5 separate regions of the Homo sapiens genome follow, and regions 1, 2, 3 and 4 are each linked to region 5. Evidence: promoter capture Hi-C in 16 types of primary human blood cells and fetal thymus (Javierre and others, 2016). All regions are on one chromosome and are shown on one strand. The core of a region is centred on a gene start or on the middle of the fragment in contact, and the rest is flanking DNA. Distances in the headings are between cores, read along the strand shown. Region 1 has its middle 5.8 kb from the start of CNTF. Region 2 holds the start of LPXN (leupaxin). Region 3 overlaps LPXN (leupaxin). Region 4 overlaps LPXN (leupaxin). Region 5 holds the start of SSRP1 (structure specific recognition protein 1).

The links. Contacts are between HindIII fragments. The CHiCAGO score rates a contact against its expected background, and 5 or more counts as called.
Region 1: a fragment that was not itself captured here is called in contact with the fragment with the promoter of SSRP1 in region 5 in 6 of 17 cell types (total CD4 T cells, non-activated CD4 T cells, fetal thymus and 3 more); the score reaches 11.4 in total CD4 T cells.
Region 2: a contact is called between a fragment that was not itself captured here and the fragment with the promoter of SSRP1 in region 5, in 9 of 17 cell types (naive CD4 T cells, activated CD4 T cells, non-activated CD4 T cells and 6 more). The highest score is 15.7, in naive CD4 T cells.
Region 3: a fragment that was not itself captured here is called in contact with the fragment with the promoter of SSRP1 in region 5 in 10 of 17 cell types (total CD8 T cells, naive CD4 T cells, non-activated CD4 T cells and 7 more); the score reaches 12.7 in total CD8 T cells.
Region 4: a fragment that was not itself captured here is called in contact with the fragment with the promoter of SSRP1 in region 5 in 1 of 17 cell types (naive CD8 T cells); the score reaches 6.0 in naive CD8 T cells.

What each region holds. Positions count from the first base shown.
Region 1 is chr11:58,627,156-58,629,855 of GRCh38, forward strand. No RefSeq gene overlaps it. Among named protein-coding and RNA genes, the nearest start is that of CNTF, 5.8 kb to the left of the region's middle. The HindIII fragment of the contact is 3,706 bases long and covers 1-2,700 here.
Region 2 is chr11:58,574,723-58,577,422 of GRCh38, forward strand. It overlaps LPXN (leupaxin), which reads right to left and starts at 1,134. Exons shown (of 9, transcript NM_004811.3): 1 at 1,038-1,134. The coding sequence starts at 1,050. RefSeq lists enhancers at 1,007-1,066, 1,077-1,126. The HindIII fragment of the contact is 1,747 bases long and covers 484-2,230 here.
Region 3 is chr11:58,524,906-58,527,605 of GRCh38, forward strand. It overlaps LPXN (leupaxin), which reads right to left. Exons shown (of 9, transcript NM_004811.3): 9 at 1,966-2,700. The coding sequence ends at 2,549. Among named protein-coding and RNA genes, the nearest start is that of OR5B21, 18 kb to the left of the region's middle. The HindIII fragment of the contact is 599 bases long and covers 1,115-1,713 here.
Region 4 is chr11:58,547,809-58,550,508 of GRCh38, forward strand. LPXN (leupaxin) reads right to left here. Exons shown (of 9, transcript NM_004811.3): 6 at 2,165-2,338; 7 at 1,978-2,059. Among named protein-coding and RNA genes, the nearest start is that of LPXN, 27 kb to the right of the region's middle. The HindIII fragment of the contact is 2,737 bases long and covers 26-2,700 here.
Region 5 is chr11:57,334,575-57,337,274 of GRCh38, forward strand. It overlaps SSRP1 (structure specific recognition protein 1), which reads right to left and starts at 1,318. Exons shown (of 17, transcript NM_003146.3): 1 at 1,156-1,318; 2 at 494-666; 3 at 1-74. The coding sequence starts at 547. It also overlaps a transcript of P2RX3 not described here. RefSeq lists enhancers at 487-556, 1,407-1,456 and a silencer at 1,057-1,236. The HindIII fragment of the contact is 4,158 bases long and covers 1,256-2,700 here.

The sequences.
Region 1 (2,700 bases), core at 35-2,534, 1.3 Mb after region 5:
CATACAATATGCACCCAAAAGAAGTGTGGGGAAAGCTAATCTTAGAAAAAGATAAAGGGGAAATGAGCAGTAGACCATGCAACAAAAATCAACATGTATGAGATCTGAATGTGTAGACATTGCATCATGTTTATTTGAAATGGATAAATAGAAAAAGGGACTGAATGGATTAGTATTCTAGATGTGTGCCTTATAGTAAAGAAGAGGATAACGATGACACTATGGAATTACGTTTTTTTAGGAATATAGAACCCCAAGAAGATTTTGTTCATTAGGTTTTATTCTGTTGATCTGATATGGATAAGATCTCTGGGAAATCATATATGGTATAACTATATAGATTGAATTATAGTTTAAGGTACATAGATTTAGTTTCTAGCCCTAACTCATTTTGTAAAAACAATTTCTTCTGCCTCCTTTTCAGAGAGTACCTTCTGAAAAGTCCTCTGTGGGTAAAGAGATCTTGTTTTCCTGAGTCAAGGAATTGCATGGATGAGAGTTTTTCTTGCATTCATGTAAGAGGGTGATTTGGAAAAGGCTCGCAAATCAGCACAAACTTGAAAGCCAAGCATGGAATAAAATTAGCCTTAAGATAATCAGGTTTAAGTGAAGGGAGAGTTTTAATAAAAATGGAAAATGTAAAGTCATAGCTCTGGTATTGCTGTTATTTCAAGCTGCTATGGATCAATGCCCAAAGGATGACTCATTGTTGTGATCACTTGTCAGACAGGGAGAGGACTAGTAAATATTTCAGGAAGACATATCTGAAAAGTTATTTAGATTGAATTTTGTTTGTGAATCCTCAGCTCCTCATGAGGTACCTGAGCATCTCTGTTAAGGGGTGAAATAGAGACACGGGAAGCAGAGAGACCTCCACCAGGATGTAAAGGGGATTGGTAAAGAGGAAGGGGGTAGGGGGGAGTAGAATTTTGATTTCACTTCAGTTGATTCTGTGTGTGTGTGTGTGTGTGTGTGTGTGTGTGTGTGTGTGCGCGCGCGCGCGTGTGTGACTAATGTACTGTTAATGTACTGTTTAGGTCAGGACATTTCTTAAAAGGAATGCTTTGGCCTCCTGCCTCATCCCACCTCCACTGCAAGCGTCAGACCCACCCAAGAATGAGCTCTCTGAATGTGGGTGCATTCAAAAGCGAAAAATGATAAAAACTTCATTTCTTGGCTTCTGTAGCCCTCTGAGAACTACAGATAAAGACAGAATAAGATAATTTGATGGTTTGATGAAGTGTCTGGGTGTGAGATAAAATCTATGTGCTTATGATTCTTAATATAAAAGATTATTTCGATCAATCTGGTTTGAACACATAGAAAACAAAAGATGCAAGAATAGCTAACAATAAAGTTCTTTTCTCAGCAATACCATAAGTTACTTCTTTTCTGTATCTTTGGATGAATGAGGGGAATTTCAAGTGACTTCAGCATTGGATGAAGCATAATCCTCCTAGCCAGGGCCAGGCCCAATCAAGCGTGCTGAGTAAATCTCCATGGTGCCAGGCCACTCACACTGGGCAAAACTCCCAGGGCCAGTCAGCCTAGAAAAGGTAGATTGCCCCTATATCACCAGGCCAATGCTTTGCCCTCTGAATACGTAGTCCTATCAGCTAGACTGCAGATGAGAATGATTTCCTTTTATATGGCTTAATTGCAAGTAGCTGACCACCCCCCCCCCCCCATTAAGCCTTTGACTTCAAGAGAAGAACCCTGACTAGCCCATTTTTAGTCAGGTTGGAGGTAGAAACCAAATTGTTGAAAATCACATAGAGGAAAATATGAAACAGTTACTGAGAGATTCTGTATTTCTATCCACATATTTAAGGTAGTATGAAAGGGAATAATGTAACATGTCAGGCAGCTCTGCATTATTTTATATTATTTAATCCTCTGACATATCTCTTAGATGAGGAAAATGAGAATGAGCATTAACTTGCCCAAATTTCCTCCTCTAGCACCTGACAGGGCTGGAGTCTTAATTCTGGCTCTAAAGCTCACTTCACTACATCTTGTGCCATAGGACATCTGGTAATCAAAATTCTCTTATTCTGAAATCCATTCTCTGTCTCTAATCCACTCTCCTTGGCTAAAGCCAATACAGGCTTGTACAGAATTTTGCTTTGTAACGAAGTCTATATAAGTTTCTAAACTTTCAGACAAGTCACTCTTTTTTCTGAGCTTCCTCATTTGTGAAATGAAAATGATGAAAAATAGCTAACTACACAGTTGTTATAGACAAATTGAGTATCTGAAATTACTTGTAACTGACATGCAGACATCATCAGGTATATTTAATGCCTCAGGTAGCTTGGATTCAGAGTTGATTGAGGAGCAAGCTCCTAAGTATCTCAGAGAATACCACCTGCTTACCAGGAATGATCTGGCCACAGCCTCAACTTCACCCTATTGTGCCTATTGGCCTTTGGCCACTGGAGGTTGACCCAGCAGTCTCACTCACAGCCTCCAGGAATCATCCACTTCCCTGGAGAGTTACAACCCAGGCCATTCACCCAGGAGGCAGCTTTCACGGTAGGCATGGTCAGACAAGTCCTGGAGAAGCCTGGTAGGCTCCAGAGGGAGCCAAGGAAACATGCCGTCTAAGGAGCTGCCCAGGATACATTAAAGCATGCGTTTAGACTTAGAATCATCCCACCGTACGCCTACACCCTCCTGTTAATACCAGAAGGAACTCAA
Region 2 (2,700 bases), core at 107-2,606, 1.2 Mb after region 5:
CCTCCAAAGCAGTTTGATATTTATTAAACACTACCTTTTTCTCTTCATTAACATCTCTTGCCTCCTGGTAATTTGCCCTTTACTTTTCCTCTGTTTCTCCAGCTTTGAAATCACACGCCATTTTTTTTAAGACAATGTAACAATGTGCAAGATATTTTTTGTTGTTGTTTTTTGCACTTTTGACATACCCTATCCCCAAACACACCCCAAACCAGGACACTGTGGAATTAATACAGTTTGGAAATTGGGTATAGTTTAGTGACTCAGTGTTAGTTAAGATGCTGGCAACAGATGTTGGCAAAGGCTATGGAATGAGTCCCAAGAATGACAAACCTTACATTACTCCAAAGGTTTGAAATCCAGGATTTCTCTGGTTAATATGGTTAATAGTTCCACTGCTGGTTTTAATTGTCTTAGAGTGGAAGGAGGTGTCATATTTTCAGGCCCTAGTAATCTCTTCCTTCAGAATTCTTCTGAATAAAAAGCTTAGCAACAAAATCACTAGAGTTAGAGTGCTATGCCTTCTTGATTTAATACTAAAACATGGAACAAATGAAACCACTCTGGCCTTTTTCCAACCTCTACAGATCCCTCATTCTTATACTTCTAGTCCGTCTTTTCTTCCTCATAACACCCCAATTCCCTTTTTGCTCTTTCTTTTCCTCCTCAAATCATATCTCTGCATTGTCTCGCTATGTGGCCACCCTTGATCTCCAGTGACCTCCAAAGGGCAAAACGCCCATAACAAGACAACAACTGCAGTAACAATCCAGTCCAAAAGTATTTGCCAAGAGTTTATTCCGCGGTTAGCACCAAACTCTCCATCTATTTTGCCACTGCAAACAGTGAACCCATAGTTCCCCAAAACAATCATAGTTCCTCATGCTTCACTCTTGGCAGGGCTGAGGACAGGAAAGAAGTGAAAATAAAATCTTCCATTACTACCCTCAGTCTAGCCAGAAGTATACCCCACCACACAAGGAGATGGCAGCCAAGTCTTCACTCCCTCAGAGTTTCTCCTCAGGCTCCTCACTCACCTAACTCTTCCATTGTCCTACATCCAAGATGCTCTTGTCTCACAGGCCGTGAGGAACAGCTTTGGCATGTGCTGAAGAAGAGGACCGCAAAGGAACTGGATGAGACAGCATAAGGCAGCCTCTATAAACCTTTTTGGTTCCTGTATTTGCTTAGCACTTCCTCTCTTTTGATTTGGTGAGCTTTTTTTTTTTTTTCATAGGTTACACAGTTTTAAAAATGTGACTGACATAGAAAGGTAGATAGTAAGATTTGCATTATGGCAGTGCATTGGCCAGGGTGATAAAGATTCAAAATTAATTTTGCAAAATTTGAGGACCTACTCTGTGCCAGGATTCATCTTGGATTCATGGGAATGGCAGACTTATACTTGCGTTTTTTCCAAGTGTAGGTACCCCACTCTGAGCATCTTTCTTTTTTCTTTTTTTTTTTTCTGTGAAGCTGGGAGACACAGAGGCATAGTCTCCTTCTTAAAATTTGCATCAGAGTTGACCAGCATCCATTTCATTTTGTTGTCTTATTTATTCAGAAATTATGGTTATCTGCTTTCCTGCATGGAACGTAAATCCTTAAAAGTAGGGCAGAAGTGGATTCATGCTTGGATTCTCAGGGCCTGGTTTACTCAGTGGTCCCAAAAGCAAACATCTATAGGGTGGTCACAAAGAAGGAAGCCAGGTTTGACACCAGATGTTAAACTGTGTGCATCTCAATTAAGCATAATCCCTGCCTAGATACACTGCCTTATAGCAATTTCTTTGGAAAGTAACACTGAGGTTAACTCTTCACCTTTTTTACCACTGTGATTTATTCACCTTGAATTAAACATTTACAAAAGGCCTACTATAAAAAAGCAATACGTAAGGAACTATAATTATGGCCCTGTGAAATAGATTTTTTCCCCCTTTTTACCAATGGTGAAATAGGTTCATGTAATAGCAACTTGCTAAGATAATTAATTGGTAGCTTTGCTACTTACTATAATTGCAAAGTCTGGGATCTTTCCTCTACAACACCGTAGCCTTCTTTACTTTTTTTAAGACAAGCTCTCTGTCACCCAGGCTGGCGTGCAAAGGTACTATCATAGTTCAGTGTAACCTCCAACTCGAACTCCTGAACTCAAGCGATTTGCCCTTCTCAGCTTCTGGAGTAGCTGGGACCAGAGGTGCATCCCATCACGCCACCAGGTTAGCTTAAAAGCTTTATTTTTATTTTTTATGTAGAGGGTGGTCTCCCTATGTTGCCCAGGCTGGTCTGGAAGTTCTGGGCTCAAGGGATCCTCCCACTTTGGCATCCAAAAGCGCTGGGATTCCGGGGGTGAGCTACCACATCCAGCCCACAGTGGCTTTTTTTTTTTAGGGAATAATTCATTCTCCATTCCACTGTCTGTACATTTTTTTTTGAAAGGAGATTCCTCCTCTGTATTACTTTGAGCATCCATTGGATGTCAGCACTGTTCCTTCCAAAAGTCTGCTCACTACAAACTCAATCTTAAAAAATTTCCATTGACACTATGCCAATCGATTATTACAACTGAAAATGACATTAGCCCTATGAAAATGGAAAATACTCAGTAGAGAATATAAAACATTTGTCTAATATGAAGTGGTATCTGAGTCAAAGTACTGGAAGGAAAAATGTACTTCAGCACTTGTCTACAGTTTAACT
Region 3 (2,700 bases), core at 164-2,663, 1.2 Mb after region 5:
AAAACTGACCAAACTAATTGAGGGACTCCCCTTTGAGAATACAGTGCCAACTCTAGAGCATATTCCTTTCTATATGTTTATATTCACTGGTGGAAAATCCCTGTCCTGTGAGGGTGGGTTTTATTTTTTAAACATCCTAGAAGTTACTCAAAACCAAAAGTAAATAAGTACGTGATCAATTTTAGTAATGGCATTTCCAGGGTTTTTAAAAAGCAGAACTTTTTACTTGTGAGTAGTTTCCTTATTGCTAAAACACTGGTCCTGAAGTCAGTATCTCTTTTTGAGCAAATAAAACCACTTCCGTTCAATGTGGGAAGAAAGTGTTTTCACTTCTTAATTACATCTTAGTGAACTCTGGATTTTCTTTGACATTTAAAAATAGTTAAATTCTATTGAATCTCAAAATAGCTAATCCTTTTTAAAAAAGTTTTAGCACCTGTACATTTCTTTTTAAGGGCTAAAACTCCAAGTTTATTTTGTCAAATTGCCAAGGCAACCAAGAACATTGCCATATTAACACCTGCGTGTGACATCGTTGAGTGAAGACATTGCAAAGAGGATGTTTAAAAGTTGAATGTGTGTTCTGCATAGTCTGGCGCTCTCAGACAGCCAAACAGGATAGAGGCCAGATGGTTCCGTATCTGTGTGGCCTCCCACATATCTTACATGCATTTGGAGTTCCTATTTTATAGAATTAACTGTTGCCAATTCCTTGTAACTCTCACAACCCCCTTATTATCCATTCCAACAAAGGACATAGATATAATAAAGTTTGGCAAGAAACATTTAATCCATTTCAGCTCTCCCAAGTAGTACTATTCCTCTATCAATCTAAAGACATCAAATTTTGTCCTATTTTTAAAAATACCTCCAGTGAAGGAGTTTTCGCCAGTAACTTATCTCAGAATCAAGGATTCTAAGAGTCTGGTTTTTGTTATAACAAATAATCACACAATTATTTTTAAGACCACGGGAAGAAAGATATTGTACTGATCTTCTCAATATCCCTTTTGCAGAAAGATTAGTCCTTGTGAAGCTTACTTTTATAAAAAGTAAACTGTAGGACAGTAAACTGACAGGACATAAGAAAATCAGATTCTCTGATAACCTGACAAGCTTTTCTAAACATTTACTTATAATATTTTGAGATGAACAAATGATTAAGAGGAATTTTTCTTTGAGTCTTGGCTTTCCTAATTCTAGATAATAATCATTTGAGCTTTATTTATAGCATCTTTCTTCAGAGATGCTCTAAGAACAGCCATCTCATTTGTCTTCAGGAGGCAAATGTGAAATTGTGTTTCATTTTTTACTTTAGAAATGAATTTGTGGCTGGGCGCAGTGGCTCACGCCTGTAATCCCAACACTTTGGGAGGTCGAGGTGGGTGGATCACCTGAGGTCGGGAGTTTGAGACCAGCCTGACCAACGTGGAGAAACCCCATCTCTACTAAAAATAGAAAAATTAGCCTGGTGTGGTGGCGCATGCCTGTAATTCCAGCTACTCAGGAGGCTGAGGCAGGAGAATTGCTTGAACCCAGGAGGTGGAGGTTGCGGTCAGCCGAGATCGCGCCATTCCACTCCAACCTGGGCAACAAGAGCGAAACTCCATCTCAGAAAAAAAAAAAAAGGAAAAAGAAATGAATTTGTAAGGTTTCTAATGGAGAGCCAGGGTTTCTCCTCCTGTAAACAAAGTAATAAAAACAATTTTAAGAAGCTTTGTCATTTTTAAAAATGATTCAATCATCTAAGTCTAGAAAATAAAATGGTTATGGGACCAAACTAAAAAGAAAAAAAAGAAAAATTAGTGAAAAGGAGACCCTCCTTTTAATTTCTTCTGATTAAAAATTTTAAAGTGTGCATTGGATGGAAGGAAACGAGGTATGATATAATCTTAATTGTACATAGTGCCTAGTATATAACACGGGAAGCAGAAAGTTTATCTCCCAAACAAATATGACAATGAGTTATTGAAACCACAAGCCAGTTTATTTATCAATGATGTCAGTACTCAAAGTTGTCCAGTTAAAATCTACTTCCTCTTGAAAAACAAAAATACACTGAAGGAAGATGCAAAGAGCTAAAAGTGGTATCATGATTCCACAGCAGTGATTGTAAGACAGTGAGCCACAGGGAAATGGGAAAACGTGAAAAGAAACAAGTATCAGGACCAAATTAGAGAAGATATGAGTAGGGCCATCACTAGAGGTGAAAATGGAGAAACCTAAGAAAACCAGTGTTGGCATGAATTATGCAAGTGGAAAATACATCTGTAGAGGGACGAGATAGAAGGACCTAGATCTAACTCCAAGTGCTTGATTGGAGAAGAGAGGGAGAAAGAGAATTTATAGAATTAACTGTATAGAAGCCTAAAAAATAAGATTATCAGCCTAGTCATGTAAAGTCTAGAAGTTCCTTTATTTGCTCATCACCTTTCCTTTTTCTATAAGACTATTAAGCAGAAGGTCAGTAACAGAAAATTTACCCTTTCCTCTCCTCTCTTGGTTTAAATTTTATAAGGAATCTGAAGAGGCTATGGATCAGTTGGCATTACAGTGGGAAGAGCTTATTGAAGCAAGGTTGACAATAGGTCTTGTCATTCTGCTCCCTGAAAATGCCCTTCGACAACTGTGTCAGGCAGAAAGCACACACAAAGTGCTCAGGATGGAACTTGTACCCCATGGCACTGATACAACGGCCAG
Region 4 (2,700 bases), core at 144-2,643, 1.2 Mb after region 5:
ATCAGAAAAGACAGAGGACTGCACAAGCTTTTATTTATGAGAGGAGAAATCCTTCCCCACTGAGTTCATTCTAAAAGGACAGGAGAAAAACAAAGTAAAGCAGCTTTCTGATTCCATATTTGTTCAAAACAAACATAAAAAGGAGAAATTAAAAAAAACAAGACAATTCAGAAAACACATGAAACAAACATACAAAGGGGGAAGAATGGGTCATGTAGAAAGGATCAAGGATAAAAAAAATTTAATAAAAACTTGCCAATCATGGAAGCTAGAAGACAGTGAAGCAATGTCTTCAGAATTATGAAGGAAAATAGTTTCCACTTAGAATTCTATGCCCAGGCAACTTAAGGGCAATGACAGAATAAAAATATTTTCAGATATTCAAGTTCTCAAAAATTCTTTCTCAGAAAGCTACTAGGGGATGTTCCCCACCAAAATAAAGGTGGTAACATGTATAAAACATAGACATGGGACCCAGGAAACAGAGCATCCAAAGAGGAAACTAATAAAAGGAATTTCCAAGAGTAATTACTAGATATAATTCTAAGTTAATGAACCAGAATGACTGCTACTCAGCAGGAAGAAATCATTTCATGTTGAATCAGGAGGAGGAAAGTCTCCTGGAGGGATATCTCCAGAAAAAAAAAAAAGAAAAGAAAGAAACTGACTTGTTGCCAGATGTAGTTGGCCATTTTGAAAAGAATTTCACAGTTCTGTTGCATAACTTAGTGATAAGTACAATAAAAACTAAGCCAATTTCAAAAAGGATTCAAATGTTAACTTTAGAAAAAAATGAATTTATACCAAAAGGACACTGTGATAATAATATTAACACTACTATACCTCCATGTGCTTGGCACTATTCTAAATACCACGCTTGTATTGTCTCTAAATCCTCATAACAACCCTATAAGGTAGGCAATTTCATTAGGACTATTTTACTGATGAGGAAAGTAAGGTACAGAGATGTTAAATGACTTGAACAAATACCACAACCCAGATTTGAACCTGGAAGTCTGACTCTAAAATCCAGACTCTAGTGTAGTCAGTTTGCTACATGGCTTACTTGTGAGCAGTATTCTATGATTGTCAACATATGCACACTTAATACTGATCTAACCTGTAATTATGACATAATTATATATTGAAAAAACAGGGGAGGGGAAATATGTTAGGAGTGAGTGGGGTAATAATAACATTTCTAAACCTCATCTTCCCTCTTAGACAGTCAATACATAATGGTTAAAACTGGAAAAATAAAACAATCTATAACAATATAAAGTTATTATTTAAAACACATAAGCAGGCCAGGCGCAGTAGTTCATGCCTGTAATGCCAGCACTTTGGGAGGCCAAGGCGGGCGGATCACGAGGTCAGGAGTTCAAGACCAGCCTGGCCAATATGGTGAAACATTGTCCCTACTAAAAATACAAAAATTAACCGGGTGTGGTGGCAAGTGCCTGTAGTCCCAGCTACTTGGGAGGCTGAGGCAGGAGAATCGCTTGAACCCAGGAGGTGGAGGTTGCAGTGGGCGGAGATCGCACCAGAGATCGCACCACTGCACTCCAGCCTGGGCAACACAGTGAGACTCCGTCTCAAAAAAACAAACAACAACAACAACAAAAAATAAGTAAATATCAGAAGAAACAGCTAAAATAATTTGGAGAGGAGAACTGGATTTGGAGATGAGAAAGGGACTTTTTCAATATTCAACAAGAAAAGGCTTTTTCAATATTACCCTTGAAGTAATATTTGAGTTTTTAAACTATGCATTTGTATTTCTGTGATTTAAAAAATCAATTTAAAGGGAAATTATAAATGTTGGAGAAAGGTAGGGAGGGATGGTATCTAGTACTGAAATGGGCACTTTGATAGTACTGATAGGAACCAGGACTCCCGTGACTACCAGGAAAGGTGTTGCTGGTCTTATAACTACCCACTGGGGTGTGGGATACAGCCTCTCAAGTCGGGTCATACCTTCTGCACCAAACACCTCTCCGCAGTGAGAGCAGAAGAAGTGCTCTGGGTGCCAGGTCTGGTTCATTGCTGTCAGCACTTTCTGGAAAGGGAACACACAGATATTATAATGATGCAGAAGTTGTAAAGCATGACTCTGGTTCTAAGTGAGTGACTGAAAGCTGGAGAGGAGCGGGGATTTACTTACATCCAGGATGGGAGCAGCGCAGTAAGCACAGCGTGGAGAAAAAAGTTGGTGGTAGTCGTTGGGGCAGTAGGCCAAGCCACTCCGCTCAAAGAAGGGACTGGAGCCAATCTCTTCTTTGCAATGAGTACAGACAAAATGCTCAGGATGCCATGATTGCCCTAGAGCATGGATCACCTGTGGAGTGAAATAAAGCCTGACACAGGAGGCCAGTTGAGTGCTCTACAGCCTACAGGTTGCACAACTCTAGGGAGCACTCTTCACATTGTACCCCTTGTAGACAACACGCCCTGGAATTATACAACACTGAGGCCTAGACCTAGGTTCCACCTAAGGCCATCTGTGGTCTGTGCTTTATGGATTGATAATAAAAGGATGCCCACTTCCGGGACTGATCACTGTGATGAAAGCCTGTAAATGTTCACAACCACTGCACTGCCACAGGGGGTGGCAGAAACAACATATAGCACATTGATGACAGAGAAGTTGTAACTGTAGCCTTAGTGTGGAAGGGACCCCTGGAAGAGGAAAAGGCCAAA
Region 5 (2,700 bases), core at 68-2,567:
ATGTTGTCCACTTTGCCTGTCTTGCTATTCTTGAAGATGATGCCCTGACGGCTCAACCTCAGTCGACCATCATTCTGTAAGAAAAGCAGGCCCAGATGCATGGAGACAGTACACAGCATGTCCTGGGTTCTACAGCTCTACCTAACACACATTCCTGCTGCAAGTGGACTGGCCAGATTATCAATGCAGGAGCAACAGCTGAGGGTGCCAAGGAGTCTAGATTCTAAACCAGACTCTGGTATCTAGAACCCTTAACAGATTCTCAGTTTCCTCATTTGTAAAACAGGAATTGGGAACTGAACAGCATATACGGTCCCTATAACTCTGAGACTATCTCTCAGTATTGCCTTGAGTTGGTGGAGACACTAGGTACACATTATACTGAGTCTTCTTTTTCCAAAATAACGTTACCAAAGCAAGCTCTCATTAATGGACAAAAACTCTACCCTCCTTCCTTCTCTCTACTTGTATCACCTGTCCAAGCCATTCTCACCATGGAACCTTTCACCTCCTGATAGACGTCGTTGAACTCCAGTGTCTCTGCCATGTCGACCCCTGCCTGTGGTGGCCTGGGCAGAGCCCCAGGCTGCACAAGGGAAACCAAGTAAACTGGGAGCTGGGCCCCAACTCCTGAGTGGGTGTGCGGATGCTCAGCAGGTTGGGAATCTGAATTCAAGAGGAAGACAGATAAGCATGAAAGACAGCACCTCGCTGTGCTCACGGATGGAGCCAGGTAGCAACTCCCAGCTGCGCCTGGATGTCTCAGGATTTCCTCTGCCTGGAAACCTACAGACGGACGCTGCAGTGCCCGAGGGTCCAGGTCCAGGCCTGGGTGGAGAACCGGGCCCGGAATACCGCTGACACCCAACCCGACGCCCGCTCTGGCCGCTCCGGCGGGAGCCATGGCAACGAGCAGCGGAACCCCAGGGTCTGCCAGGAGCCCGCACATCGCACGCGACCCAATCCAGCTCAGAGTGCAGGGTTTCCCTCGCACCGCTCCCACCACCCCGCGGCCCCAGACCCACGGTTCACCCCCGCCCCACATAATGGATTCGCCCGCTCCCCGCGGTTGCGAACGCGGAATGGTCCATGTCGAGGGTCCCGTGGGGGAGCGGGGCCCCTGCCTTCCTGGGACCGGGGACGACCACCACCTACCTCCTCAGGCTGCGGCCTCGCGAGGGCCCCGGCGCGAGAGGTGGGCGCGCTGGGGGGACGCGGGGGGGGCGCGGGGAGGGGGATGGGGGGACACCGGGGAAGCTTTTCCCGCGTGCGCGGCCCCGCGTCCCGCCACCGGAAGCCGTACACAGGCCACAGAGAGGATGAGCTGGCTAGAGAGACGCGAGTCGGGCCCGCCTGCGAGACAGTCGCATAGAGCGTCAGCGACTCTGGAGGACCTGAGGGAAGGGTGGTTGCCGTGAAGCCTCTCTCACCCAGGGGGAATCCGGCCTAGAAAATGTGTGTAGGGCTCTTTAGAAACTACAGACACTTCTTCAGTCGAGACTAGATACTAAAGAGAAATTGTGTAGTTTTATTGTATCAGACTTAGTACAGGGGTGGGGTGGGGGTGTGTATTGGAATGATGCGTGCCCGTTTCTCTGCAAAATAGTTTCTATGTCATGGAAAGGAGTCGATGGGACAAGAAGAGAAGTATTTGAACAGTTGTGGGAGGAAACGACCTCTCCCACTGGCTGCGGAGAGTATGCGGGTGTTGGTGTCATCGTGGGTGCACTGCTTTCTGGCTGAACTGTCAAGTTCACTGTCTACACCCAAAATTTTCACATCCTTAACCGAAAATTATAGGTACCTCCAAGAGGCTGGCAAACGGCCTTATCCAGTTCAAGTCCTGGTGTCAGATTCACCTTGGAGCCAGAACTGATTTGAAACCACATCATCCTGTGGTTGCGGAAGCCAGGTCTCCCCCGTATAATCCCAGAGTGCATTTTGCAACATCAGAGACCAGACCTGGAAAAGATGTTTTAGTTTTTCTACCCCAACCTCCTTTTACTGATGGGAAAACTGAGACCCAAAGGGGAGTGAGTTGCCCAGGGTCTCAGTGCGTTGGCAACAAGGCTAGGTAGGACCCAGACCTCCTTAACACCACCAGTCCAGTTATCTTCTGTCATAATCACAGTGACTGTATGTTCAGAATGACTATTGATATGTGTCCTACATGAAGACATTAGTACAGAATATGTAAGCTCAAGATTTCCCTGACAATCAATACACCAGCTTGCTAAATCAATCCTGGGGTAAGAGACAACAGGAATGCACCCTTCTCCCCTGAACTCATAGCTTTAACCTCTGAGTAGTGGCTATTCCAGCATTATCTAGCAAAATAAATTCAACTGGGTTTAATAAATAGATATTGAGGGCCTATTACTACTTTAGCACACTTCTCAGATTTGAGGAAACTTGAACAAGGTGAAAACATCCCCGGCCAGGCACGGTGGCTCACACCTGTAATCCTAGCACTTGGGGAGGCCAAGGCAGGGAGATCACTTGAGGTCAGGAGTTTGAGACCAGACTGGCCAACGTGGTGAAGCCCCGTCTCTATTAAAAATACAAAAATTAGCCAGGCGTGGTGGCGGGTGCCTATAATCCCAGCTACTCAGGAGGCTGAGGCATGAGAATTGCTTGAACCCAGGAGGCAGAGGTTGCAGTGAGCTGAGATTGTGCCACTGCACTCCAGCCCGGGTGACA